Regions from separate parts of the Homo sapiens genome. Here region 2 is linked to region 1. The links are contacts of gene promoters, found by promoter capture Hi-C in blood cells and fetal thymus (Javierre and others, 2016). All regions are on one chromosome and are shown on one strand. The core of a region is centred on a gene start or on the middle of the fragment in contact, and the rest is flanking DNA. Distances in the headings are between cores, read along the strand shown.

Region 1 (5,279 bases), core at 1,107-3,606:
AGAAACTGAATTCCTCCAGCCACTCTTCCCACTGTCCTGGAGATGAGGTCGGAAACACAGCAACCCATGAGGGCAGTGAGCGCCACCAGGAGGAGGAGGCCACAACCCAGGCCGGTCACTATGGTGCAGATCCTCCATTCTGCGCTGGGGATGCCCTGGAAGGAGGCATAGCGCCCACATTCCTCCACCATCACCATCATCTGCCGACTCTCATCATGCACAGGATATGAGCACCTCCGGAAGGTACCGAAGGACACAGGCTTGCCCAGCTGTGATCCCCAGAGCCAGTAAGGCATAAAGAACCCCACGCAGGAGGTGGCAGCACAAAGAAAAGACAGCAAAGCCCAGATTACTCCAGTACAAGTCAGGCTGGATGCCATCTTTCACCAGATAGGGCAATGAGGACCCCAAGTAAGTGTTCAGGGACTGCAGGAGTGAATGAAGGTGTGAAATCACCAGGGACCCACAGATAATCCACAGTTCCGTAATGCAGAATGGATCTTCAGTCTTACTGGGCATCAACTTTCCATCCTCTGCACTAAAGATGATGGTCCCTGGTAAAACAACAGGAAACATTAAAAATTAAAGGCATTAAAAGAAGTGATAACACTGTTTCAGCTAGTCTACAATTTTCAATTAATAAACATTGAGACTTGCCTCAACACTTTAAAAGTGGGAAGAACTAATTCTCTCTATGAGCTTCATAACTCGATTTTTGTCAAACCAGCTCAAAGCTTTTTCATGTCTTTATCTTCCGTAAATATTTCCAAATTAACTCTGACAGCTATTTACTTAAAGAAACGCCCGATTTTTATTTGACAGGCCAATGAATTCATTCTATATATTATATACTCACATTAAAAGTAATGTAGCACTTTCACTGGGCAATAAACAATTAAAATAAAATGAACCATGCCATGATTTCCATTTTTTGGCTTGCAAGTTCATGCTCATAGTTTGTTGCAACTTTTCTATGTCCCTTTAAGGGTGCATTAACTCTCTGCATGAGCCAAACAAACTAATTAGGATAATTTTTCACAATTGCAGAGTACCATAAATTTAACAAGCATTATGGTCTGCGGAGGCACCCACAGTACAGAACTATTACCAGACACTCTTTGTACTCATTCAGCAGCATTTCAGAATTTCTTTAGTCTTAACATCTTCTAGTGTAAAAGAATGCCTGTGTATGACTTATTTTGAGTCTGCAGTTTTGATTCATTGATTCCAACAGTTCTATTGCAATCATTTCTCCCACTGAATGATTGTCTAATTTGAACAGCAATCCATACTTCCCAGTATGCTACATCAAACCCCAGTCATCCAAATGGTTCCAGGGGCATCTACTTCCACCCCAGCCTTTCAAAAAGAGTTCCTTAACCATTTCTCACACTTTCCATAAAGAAATGAATACAGAAGCACAGAGCCCATCCACCCTAGAATTCCACCCCCAGGACCCCTAACTCCAGCTTTCAGGGTCCATAGCAAATTTCCCCCTTTCTTCACCTCGCCCCTACCCGTTTTTTTCTCTAACCACCGCCCATTTTCAGTTCTGGATGTCACTCAAACGGGAGGTCGGCTACTACTTTTTTTTCTAATCTTGTCAACTGCAGTCAGGGCTGAAGTTGATCTATCTGGGCCACGAGGCTGGGGAAGACCAGCAGGGGGTGGCCTGCGGGCAGGGGGCCCCCATCTCCAACTGCGGTGAGGCGCCCTCGCCAAGACAAGCCCATATTTAGCCCCCTGCCATTGCCTCACCGAGCCACTCCACCCATGGAGACACACAATGATCCCTCCATTCTAAAAGGGGGCAAGAGGCATTTTCCAGCCGGCTCTGGACGAAGGGAGGGGATAAGGATGGGAAGGCAGCACCCCCCGGAGGCAGACGCCAAGAGCGGACGCGGCTGGCAGGCAGAGCCGACGGATCCGCCGAGCTCAGGAAGTCCGGAGCCCGGGAGCAGCCCAACTCCGGCTCCGGGGCAGAGAGGGAGCCCGGGAGAAAGCAGCGGAGCCCACGCCCACGGGGCAGCCGAGTGATTTACTTACATGGCTGGCGGGCGGCGGCCACCTTCCCTCCCGCGTCCCGGGCGCACACACAACTTGCTGTCTTTCTCGGGCGGGAACATCCACGGGAAACCGGACCGTCCTGCCCTTCTTTGCCTCTGTCCCTAACAGCCGCAGAACCCCGGGGCCCGACCTGGAAGAGCAGGGGTTGGCAGGAGGCGGAGGGTCTCCAGAAGCGGGCTGGCACCAGCGGAGACCCCCACTCCCGGCGAGTCCGCGGCGGCAGCTCTGGCGGAGCGCTGTGGGCGCGCGCGGGCGCCGGGGATCGCACGCAGAGGAGCGGATCTCCCTTTGGCAGGCGAGGCACGCACCGCCTCCTCCCCTCCGCTGCCCGGCCCTCCTCTTTCTCCAGTCCCCTCCCCTCGCGCCCCGGGGAACTCCGCGCAGACAGACCCAGGACGCACCGGGGACGTTCCTGGAGCGCCGGGAAGGGAGTGGGGGGGTGCCCCGCTGTCCGCGCGGGTCCAGGCCCACCCCCGGGGGCAGCTTTCGCGGCTCCTCCCCTAGCCCCGAGCCCCCTCGCGCCCCCTCTCCCTGCGTCTCATTCAAAGCTGAGTGGGGAAGGCAGACAGACCGAGAAGTATGGGAGAAAGTTGCTTGTCTTCCTGGGTGACCCCGAGGAGCCACGGAAGATGACACACTTTGCCTGTTGGGGCTTTTCTGGGTTTACTGTTCGGGTTTATGCTCCTGTTTTCCTGCCGCCGTTAAAAGAAGCCGTAGACGGGAAAGAGGGCCTTAAAGAGTGGGTAAAGTGGCCCCTTTGAGATTTGAGGAGGCTTTTGAGAAGTGGTCACTTTGGAAGGCGGTGAATGAGGCGGTTGTGGACGTGGGAATTAAAGCACAGCAGACAGCCCAAGGCTCATGTATGGCATGGGGGCAGCTGCCTTTCCAGACGAGCCAGGGAGAAGGCAGGGGCGGACCTCTAGCGAGCCTCTCCCAAGAGATACACTCTTTCAAAGGTCTCTCTCTCTCTCTCTTGCTGTTTCTCTGTCTCTCTCTCCCTCCCTCCCTCCCTTTCCCTTCACTTCCTCCCTCCCTTCTCCTCCATCCTGCCTCCTGATCAATTTTGCAATTTATTCCATCGTTTGATTTCTTTTCTGAGAAACAACTGATTTTTAGTTCCCCTCTGGACTTGAGGACTTTTTCCACTTGTCATTAGCACTAACCCCTTTAGAAGTTTAGAGCTAGATTCAGTAGATGACTGTGGGAGTCTCTGCTGAACACAGTATTTTAAGAAGTATGCCATCTGGGAACAGCAGTTTTTGAAGTAGACAGTTTCCCAGATATAGTTTTTGTGAGGTGTCTTTTTAGAGGAGTTGAAAGTAATAAATTGGTAGGTATATATTTCATAGCAGATTTTCAGACTGCACCATTTTAATTAGCCGTGATGGTGTACATTTTTCCCACAACGACAGCTGGAGATATGTGTTCTTTTATTATTATTTTGAAAGACCTTAAGTGATTGATTCCAAGCCTTTTGAGGTCACAGGTCTTTTAAAAAATACGATGAAACTGATAAGCCTTCCAGAAAAAAAAATGCGCGGACATATAAAGCTTTACCACAGCGATTCTGAAGAAGGAAAGGGATATTTGGCAAGGTCTGAAGATAATTTTGATTATCATAACCCATGAATGGGGAGTATTACTGGCATCTAGTTGGTAAAGACCCGAGATTCTGCTAAATACAGTGCACAGGACAGTCCCCAAAATTACCTGGGCCAAAATGTCAATCATTTGAATGAAATATCAGGTGGTTTCCCATTCCCTTAAAGCCCATCCATGAATCCCATATTCAGAATCCCCAATTTAAGTGTTTTTGTTTTTGGTGTTGTTGTTGAGTTTAAGTTGTTTTAACTCTTCTCTTACAAATCACCGGTTACTGGTTTCAGTGACAGCATAAGAATGATTGGTCTGACTTCCAGTTAGGTACCACACCCTTAGTTATTACACAGAGCCTTCATACCTATATAATATGATGGTGGAAGATATGATCATAAAAGACAAAAGAATAATAGTGAGAATCGGAGTCACCTCCGTACAACCTGCAGGGGAAATTGCTCTCAAACACTTTCTTAAGTGTGAGAAAGCTTAAGCGCAAGTGCTGGCTGGAGACATATTAATGATAATCATGGTTACTACAGATTGACTCCTTGCTGTGTGTTAGTACATTAAGGTCCCTTAATAGATTACTTATCCAGTCCTCAAAAAAGAAAAGAAAAATTATGAAGAAGGAATAATTATTATTTTACCGCAAGGATAAGAAGTAATTTGCCCAAAAATTTACAGCTAAAAAATGACTTTTAAAAAAATCTCATTATTTGCACTCTCTTAAGCAGAGTAAATGCTATCACAGAGATTCTGCCTAAAATGAAAAAAAAAATGACAGAAGAGGCCAAATTTTTAAAAATCTTTCAGGATGCAATATCAATTATTTGTGAAAGTATAATACTGGGACTCAAATTTCTAACTTAAATAAGTGAATTCAGACAAATGGTGATCTTCCCAAGCCCTAAGTTATCTCATTGTTAAAAAGAGATTGAAATAGGTTATTTTAATTTTTTTTAAGCTCACAACTTCCAGCATCATGGTTATATGGGTCCTCTTATCTTTGAGAAGGAATTTAGAGATCATCTAATCTTGTTCAAGTATGTAATTTTACAGCTGACAAAACAGAGGCTCGAAATTCTTCCAGTGTCTTACCCAAAGCTGAGGCTATAATCCACATATCTTGATTTCTCTTTCTAATTATCTTACTAAACTATAATATCTTCTGAATTACTCCTTATGTTCTTCCATGCACACTTTGTAAGCAAAATGCATTATAATTTATTTAAGCCCCTTTGCATTAAATTTGTACCTTTAAAGGACCATTAAATTACTTCACAGCCAGAAGTTCCCACATAGCAGATGCCACTTATAACACCTATTCCAGGTTTGGGTTTCCAGTATGTTTGGATAGTAGTCTCATTGAGTCACAAGATGAGATCATGAATGCGACAGTATATGGAAAGCTATAAAGTGTTTATGACAACACTCTTGGTTGGCTACCCAGTATTAATTCACAATCCCCTCTCCCTTCTCACCAGATACTCTTCTAGCATCCCTTAAAGCAAGTAATGGCCACTTGATCCTGCTGTAGCCAATGAGTTTGCTAAGGAGGCCTCTGGGGAAGATTGTATTCTCTGATAAAATAAGGAGACGTGAGAGAATAGTTC
Region 2 (5,795 bases), core at 1,096-3,595, 230 kb before region 1:
CACATGGCCAGTACTTGTTTTAGCTCACATTTTTCATAGCCTATGACATATTGATTATTAAATATTTTGAATATCACTCAGACTTAGAGTGATAACACTATGACTGGATGGATGCTTAAATCCTTGCAAGCAAAAATAGGGAGTGTCTCTAACTACTTATGTGGATTCTACCAATCCACAATCTTGAGTATTTTTAATTTCACCAATGAAAGTCCATTTTTAATATTCATCATGCTATTTAATAAGATCTAATTCTACCAATAAAAGTCCATTTTGATCATTGCTGTGCTAATTAGTAAAGCTTCCAGTGTTAGTCAAGATATGAATAACAGAACCACTTGTACTAGCACCCATGAGTATCCAGTCCGGAATATGCACTCGAGTTGTGGTTTCCCTTAAATAATACCCATATATCACTGTCTATGATGAAGTATTTTTCAAGGAACTATAGGCATTGTAACAGTAGTCTTAAGAACTGTGAAGGTTTGATATTTTACTCTATTTGCAATGTAACAAGTTATACTATCACAATTTTGTGGACGCTGGCAAAAGATAGGAGACTCCTGGATCAGAGACAAAGGACTGTATTACTCACAGCACAGCAGGCAGCATGAGCTCCATGTTTATGTCCACTCCCTTTGTTGCCCTCTCCTCACAGGGGCTGATGTGAAACAGCCCAGATGAATGCAACAAACATAGTGGGTTTGTGTCACAGTTGAGGAACCCAAACTAAGGGAACTCAAATCTTTTATAATGGACTGCAATAAAATCTGCCCAATCTTTATTTACCCCAGAGAAAGGCATTATTTTTATTATAATGGACACTAAACACACCTATCCTCTGCTCTACTTCCAAGACTGTTTACTACACAAACATCTTCGAAATGATAGTTCAGAATAGAGTGTCTGTGCTGACAAGTTGTGCTAACACACAAGAGATCTGTGAAGAACAATCTCCAACAGCGGCACTAATGAAACTGGCTAAGATCCTAAGTGGAAGCATATTCAATTCACTAGGAAGGCTGAACACTCATTTTCACAGATGTGATTTTGAATTAGAACTGGTGCATGGCATGGATATAAACATGGGAACCACAGACACAGGGGATCACTAGAGTGAGGCAAAACAGAGAGGGGTAAGGGCTGAAAAACTACCTATGGGGTACTATGTTCCCTACCTGGATGATGGTATCATTTGTACCCCAAACCCCAGTGTTACACAATATATCCATGTAACAATCCTGAACATGTATCCCCTGAATCTAAAATAAAATTTGAAATAATAAAAAAGACAAAAATGGCTTAAAAAATAAAAATACAAAGGAACTATTGTATGGTAGCATTTATTTGCATAACACTTCTTGTAAGCAGAGGTGCGTTTCTGTATAATATCCCTTAACAAATACTTTCGTAGATAATGAAATCAAGTCAAAGGGGTTCAACTGTGTTCTAGCTTTCTGGAGGAATTTGAGGATTGTTGGGAGGTGAGGTCTAGAGTTCAGATCTCTAAGCTTTCCCATGTAAGACTTCCAAATGTTGTTTACTATATAGGTTCTAAGTCTTCAGGTGTCAGGAATCCATTTGAATAATAACAAAAGCTATGAATATTCTCTCCAGAAAAAAGCACATGTCCAAAAGCCTATGAAAATTGCAAAGCATTTCAGTAGATTCTGAATTTCTCTGAAGCCTACTGATGGACTATGAGCCACTTAAACGGTCTGGAGACCTTAAGTTAAAATCAGTCTGAAGATCAAAGGTTACCATAACATTTAACTCTTCTACCAGTGTCATCAAAACATCCAGTTGCTAACCCAAAGTAGCTTACTTAGCCAGATATCAATTAAGTATTAATAACATCTCCACCTATCCAAAACATGACCCCAAATCAGGAGGTTAAAAACTACTAGCCAGAACATATAAACATCAATGCTTCAAAGATGTAAAATCCAGCCAGGCATGGTGGCTCATGCTTGTAACCCCAGCACTTTGGGAGGCCAAGGCGGGTGGGTCACTCACTTGAGGCCAGGAGTTCGAGACCAGCCTGGCCATCATGGTGAAACCCTGTCTCTACTAAGAATTACAAAAATTAGCCGGGCATTGTTGTGCATACCTGTAATCCCAACTATTTGGGAGGGCGAGGCAGGAGAATCACTTGAGCCCAGGAGGCAAAGGTTGCAGTGGGCGGTGGAGGAAAAAAAAAAATACAGGCTGGGCATGGTGGCTCACGCCTGTAACCTCAGCACTTTGGGAGGCTGAGGCGGGCAGATAACGAGGTCAAGAGATCAAGACCATCCTGGCCACCATGGTGAAACCCTGTCTCTATTAAAAATACAAAAATTAGCTGGGTCTGGTGGTGCACGCCTGTAGTCCCAGCAACTCTGGAGGCTGAGGCAGGAGAATCTCTTGAACCTGAAAGGTGGAGGTTGCAGTGAGCCAAGATCACGCCACTGCACTCCAGCCTGGCAACAGAGTGAGACTCCGTCTCAACAACAACAATAACAACATCAAAAAAGACACAAAATCCTCAGAAAAAAGGACTGAAGATTGTTCCTTCATAGCATGATTTTAAAATGATTTATGATCTTTAGAAAGGGCACAAATTAGAAGTGAGAGAATAAAAAGAGACAGGCATCATTAATGACTGCAATGAATAATCAATAACTGTGACATAAAACAATTGCAATGCAACAACAAAACCAGAAAGAACAAAAAAATTATTTCAGTCTTGATTTCTTATTAAAATGGCAACAGCATTCTATAAATGTCCACAGGTCTCAGGAATGACTATTTGACAACAGAGCCACTAATGATAAAAAGGGGCTTCTTTCTGTTTTATATTTTATATATTCTGGCTGAAATGATGGGAAAGAATATAATGGTTGAGAACACATAATACAAAAAATAATTAGAATGAAACAGCTCAATTTCCTAAATGTCCTTAAGTACTTTACATCTGAAAAGGCAAACTCAGGTACGTCTTTTTTTTTTTAAACTAATAAAAGGACAACACTGAAAAAAAAAAAAAAAGAAGAATCTTTAAAAGAGAGACTAGCATATTCTCCCCAATAGTTTTGTAACCATATCTCAAGAAATCTTATTTCCCACAGGTTTTCTAAGAGATTTCCTTTTTCCCACAATTGCTTGAATTTCCCTGCTATAAATCTCTGCAAGCCACTGAATGAAGCTTTACAAAGGCATAAATAAAAGAGTAGGAATGATCCACACTGAAATAACCAAGCCAAAATAGACTTGAGAAAAAAAGAATGTAGAGCAATTTTTTTTCCACCTATCAGGGTATCTGGTTCTTTAAATGATTACCCTGACTTGGTTTTTAAATTTTTTTTTGGGAGGTGGTTAGGCCATTAGTCCCTTAAAAAGTGATGCCATGATTCTTGGTAGGATATCAGTGGCCAAATATATACAGAAACATGATGGCAGCTGCTGTTTCTGTGATCAAAAATTCATAGTAGGTTTCCTTCCTTCCTTCCTTCCTTCCTTCCTTCCTCCCTCTCTCCCTCCCTTCCTTCCCCCTTTCCTTTCCTCTCATTCTCCCTCCTAATTTTTTAACCATTCAATAGATGGCAGATATATGGCATGCCAGTAAGAATTATGTCTATCTTCTTCACAATTTTGTTTGTGGCACAACTTTTGTTGCCTAGAATGTGCTTAATAAATATTTGCTTGAGGAAGTAAGTGAATCTATTGAACACCAAACACCAAGCTAGGCACCGAAGTTGAAAAATCCTATCCCACAGGTTCATCTGGGATCTGCAAAACTGTGTTTAGGGAAACAGATCAAATTGAATCTATGATTGTACAGAGTGGGGTCCTTTTTCCCAAAGCAGGACAAGAGGTGTTTACTAAGTTATAAAATAGAAATGTTCTGGCTCTGATTTTGAAAACGTGGAACCTACTGGAATGGGCAGGTTGAATGAACATCCCTGAAAAAATGTGGCATTCTCCCTACTTCTAGAGTAAAGGCAGAAAACTCTTCATCTGATGGAAAGAGGCCCCTAAGAAAGGCTGAGTGACCAGAAAAGCTTATTATTGTTGCCTTGCGGGTGCCTGAACACTTTGCTCAGTCATGTCATCACTGGCCAGGGTGGGCTCCCTTGGACGCGGAAGTTTCCCTGCATCATTTGGAGCCAAGTTCCTGAGTGCCCCCATGGGTTCCTATACAATTTGGGTCTTTGTTGAATTCACAGCAGCTGCTTGGCTTTCCTGTGATTCTGTGCTAGAGCTCTGGGTGAGGAAATCCAGGCTCATGCTGGACCTTCTAAATGACTTCCAGTGACTTGGATTTAAGTGTCAAAAGTTTAGAAAATATTCAGTTAATAGTCATTTGGGAGGTAGGACATCATTGCTGCATTAACGGCCTTAAATTTGCCTACATTTCAATGCATGTTCAATACCTTACTATTAACCAACCTCCCAAATAGCAATCTCAAAATGGAATAATCCATTTACTCTAAGCAATGACCAGTGCATCAAGTGTTAGGAGTCTCTTCCTGAGCTGAGTGACAGACACTTTAACTGCCGCTCTCTGCAAACACTTGCTGCTTGAGTCAGGAGAACCCTGCTCTGGCACACAACGCAGATGCCTGCAGAAACTGCACAGAGCTGCCTGGCCTGCCTGAGCATGAAGCAACCCGAAAAGTCCACAGGAGTCATAGGAGCTTTCTAACTTCTGGACAAAATGAAGCGAGTCATATTGAATGTCACAGAGACCAATAGCAGGTTCTCTTGCTTGAGAAGCATCCACTAACACCAAGAGCTCAAAATTTTTTTAAAAAATTATACTTTTGTTTGCATTTTTACCCAGCTGACCTAGCCAGAAATTGCAAACAGATTTTTCTCAAGTATGATTAGATTTGAGAGGCAAGACGGCATGAGTCAGGAGTCAAAGAGCTAAAGGATATGTGTCTAAAGAGATGTGGGACAGTCAGTGTTCAGATTAAAGTAGAAGAGATTTCTTCCTTTGATTGAAAATTGGAAGAAACAGACTCTCATCTTTATCAACACTGGGAGGCTCTGAGTTTCCAGTTTACGGCACTGCTCTTAAGAAGCCACCAGCATAATTTCAAGAACAGGAACCATGATGGCTTCTTAATCAAATTAAATAGCAAAATGAAAGCAATAATTACTCAAATTTACTTGGCAAAATAGCGAGACAAATTAATTGAAACACTACTTTTGATCACAAGGATATAATTAGAAAAGTCTTTGGTGGATGAGAATATCTCTGAGGCATGAATTAAATCAATTGGATAACCTGATTATAAAGCCCTTATGCTTAATGGGTAAACCCAAACTTACTGTTGCGGAATGTAAAAGGAAGAATAAAGATTGATCAGCCAATATGCATTTAAATGGTCCTGTCCAACTGCAAACATTACTGGGCTTTTATTATGTGCCAGATGCTGTGACACTATGTATTCTTATCATTTATACTGTTTTATTCTCTCAAAAAGCAATAAATAAAAATCAGCATTATTAACACCTGCCACGACTGTCCCTCTGTCCACAACCACAGGCTACACTGATGATAGGACCACAGACAGTGAAGTCTGACAAAAGAAAGAAAAGACTAAAATGCCTTTTCTCCTTTTTATCTCATCTTCCTCTTACAAATCCCACTACTTCTCAGTAAAATCAAATCTTATAAAACTCTAAGTGCATCTAAGCTGAACCATAAGAAGCACGTGGCATTCCCTGGCAGCCATTATCCCTTTGAGCGGACACATGACAAAGCTGGCCCAATTAGAGTGAGGAGAGAGACTCTGATTCCATTTCTG

What was found. The method cuts DNA at HindIII sites, captures the fragments that hold promoters and counts their contacts. A CHiCAGO score of 5 or more calls a contact.
Region 2: a contact is called between a fragment that was not itself captured here and the fragment with the promoter of LHFPL6 in region 1, in 1 of 17 cell types (endothelial precursors). The highest score is 6.5, in endothelial precursors.

The regions. Positions count from the first base shown.
Region 1 is chr13:39,600,837-39,606,115 of GRCh38, forward strand. It overlaps LHFPL6 (LHFPL tetraspan subfamily member 6), which reads right to left and starts at 2,357. Exons shown (of 4, transcript NM_005780.3): 1 at 2,047-2,357; 2 at 1-554. The coding sequence starts at 380. It overlaps LOC112268119 (protein SPT2 homolog), which reads left to right and starts at 488. Exons shown (of 4, transcript XM_035861111.2): 1 at 488-557; 2 at 1,614-1,704; 3 at 1,808-2,806. The coding sequence starts at 488. RefSeq lists a silencer at 2,252-2,551. The HindIII fragment of the contact is 2,884 bases long and covers 733-3,616 here.
Region 2 is chr13:39,366,096-39,371,890 of GRCh38, forward strand. The region is part of intron 3 of LHFPL6 (LHFPL tetraspan subfamily member 6); the gene reads right to left. Among named protein-coding and RNA genes, the nearest start is that of LHFPL6, 230 kb to the right of the region's middle. The HindIII fragment of the contact is 1,673 bases long and covers 1,510-3,182 here.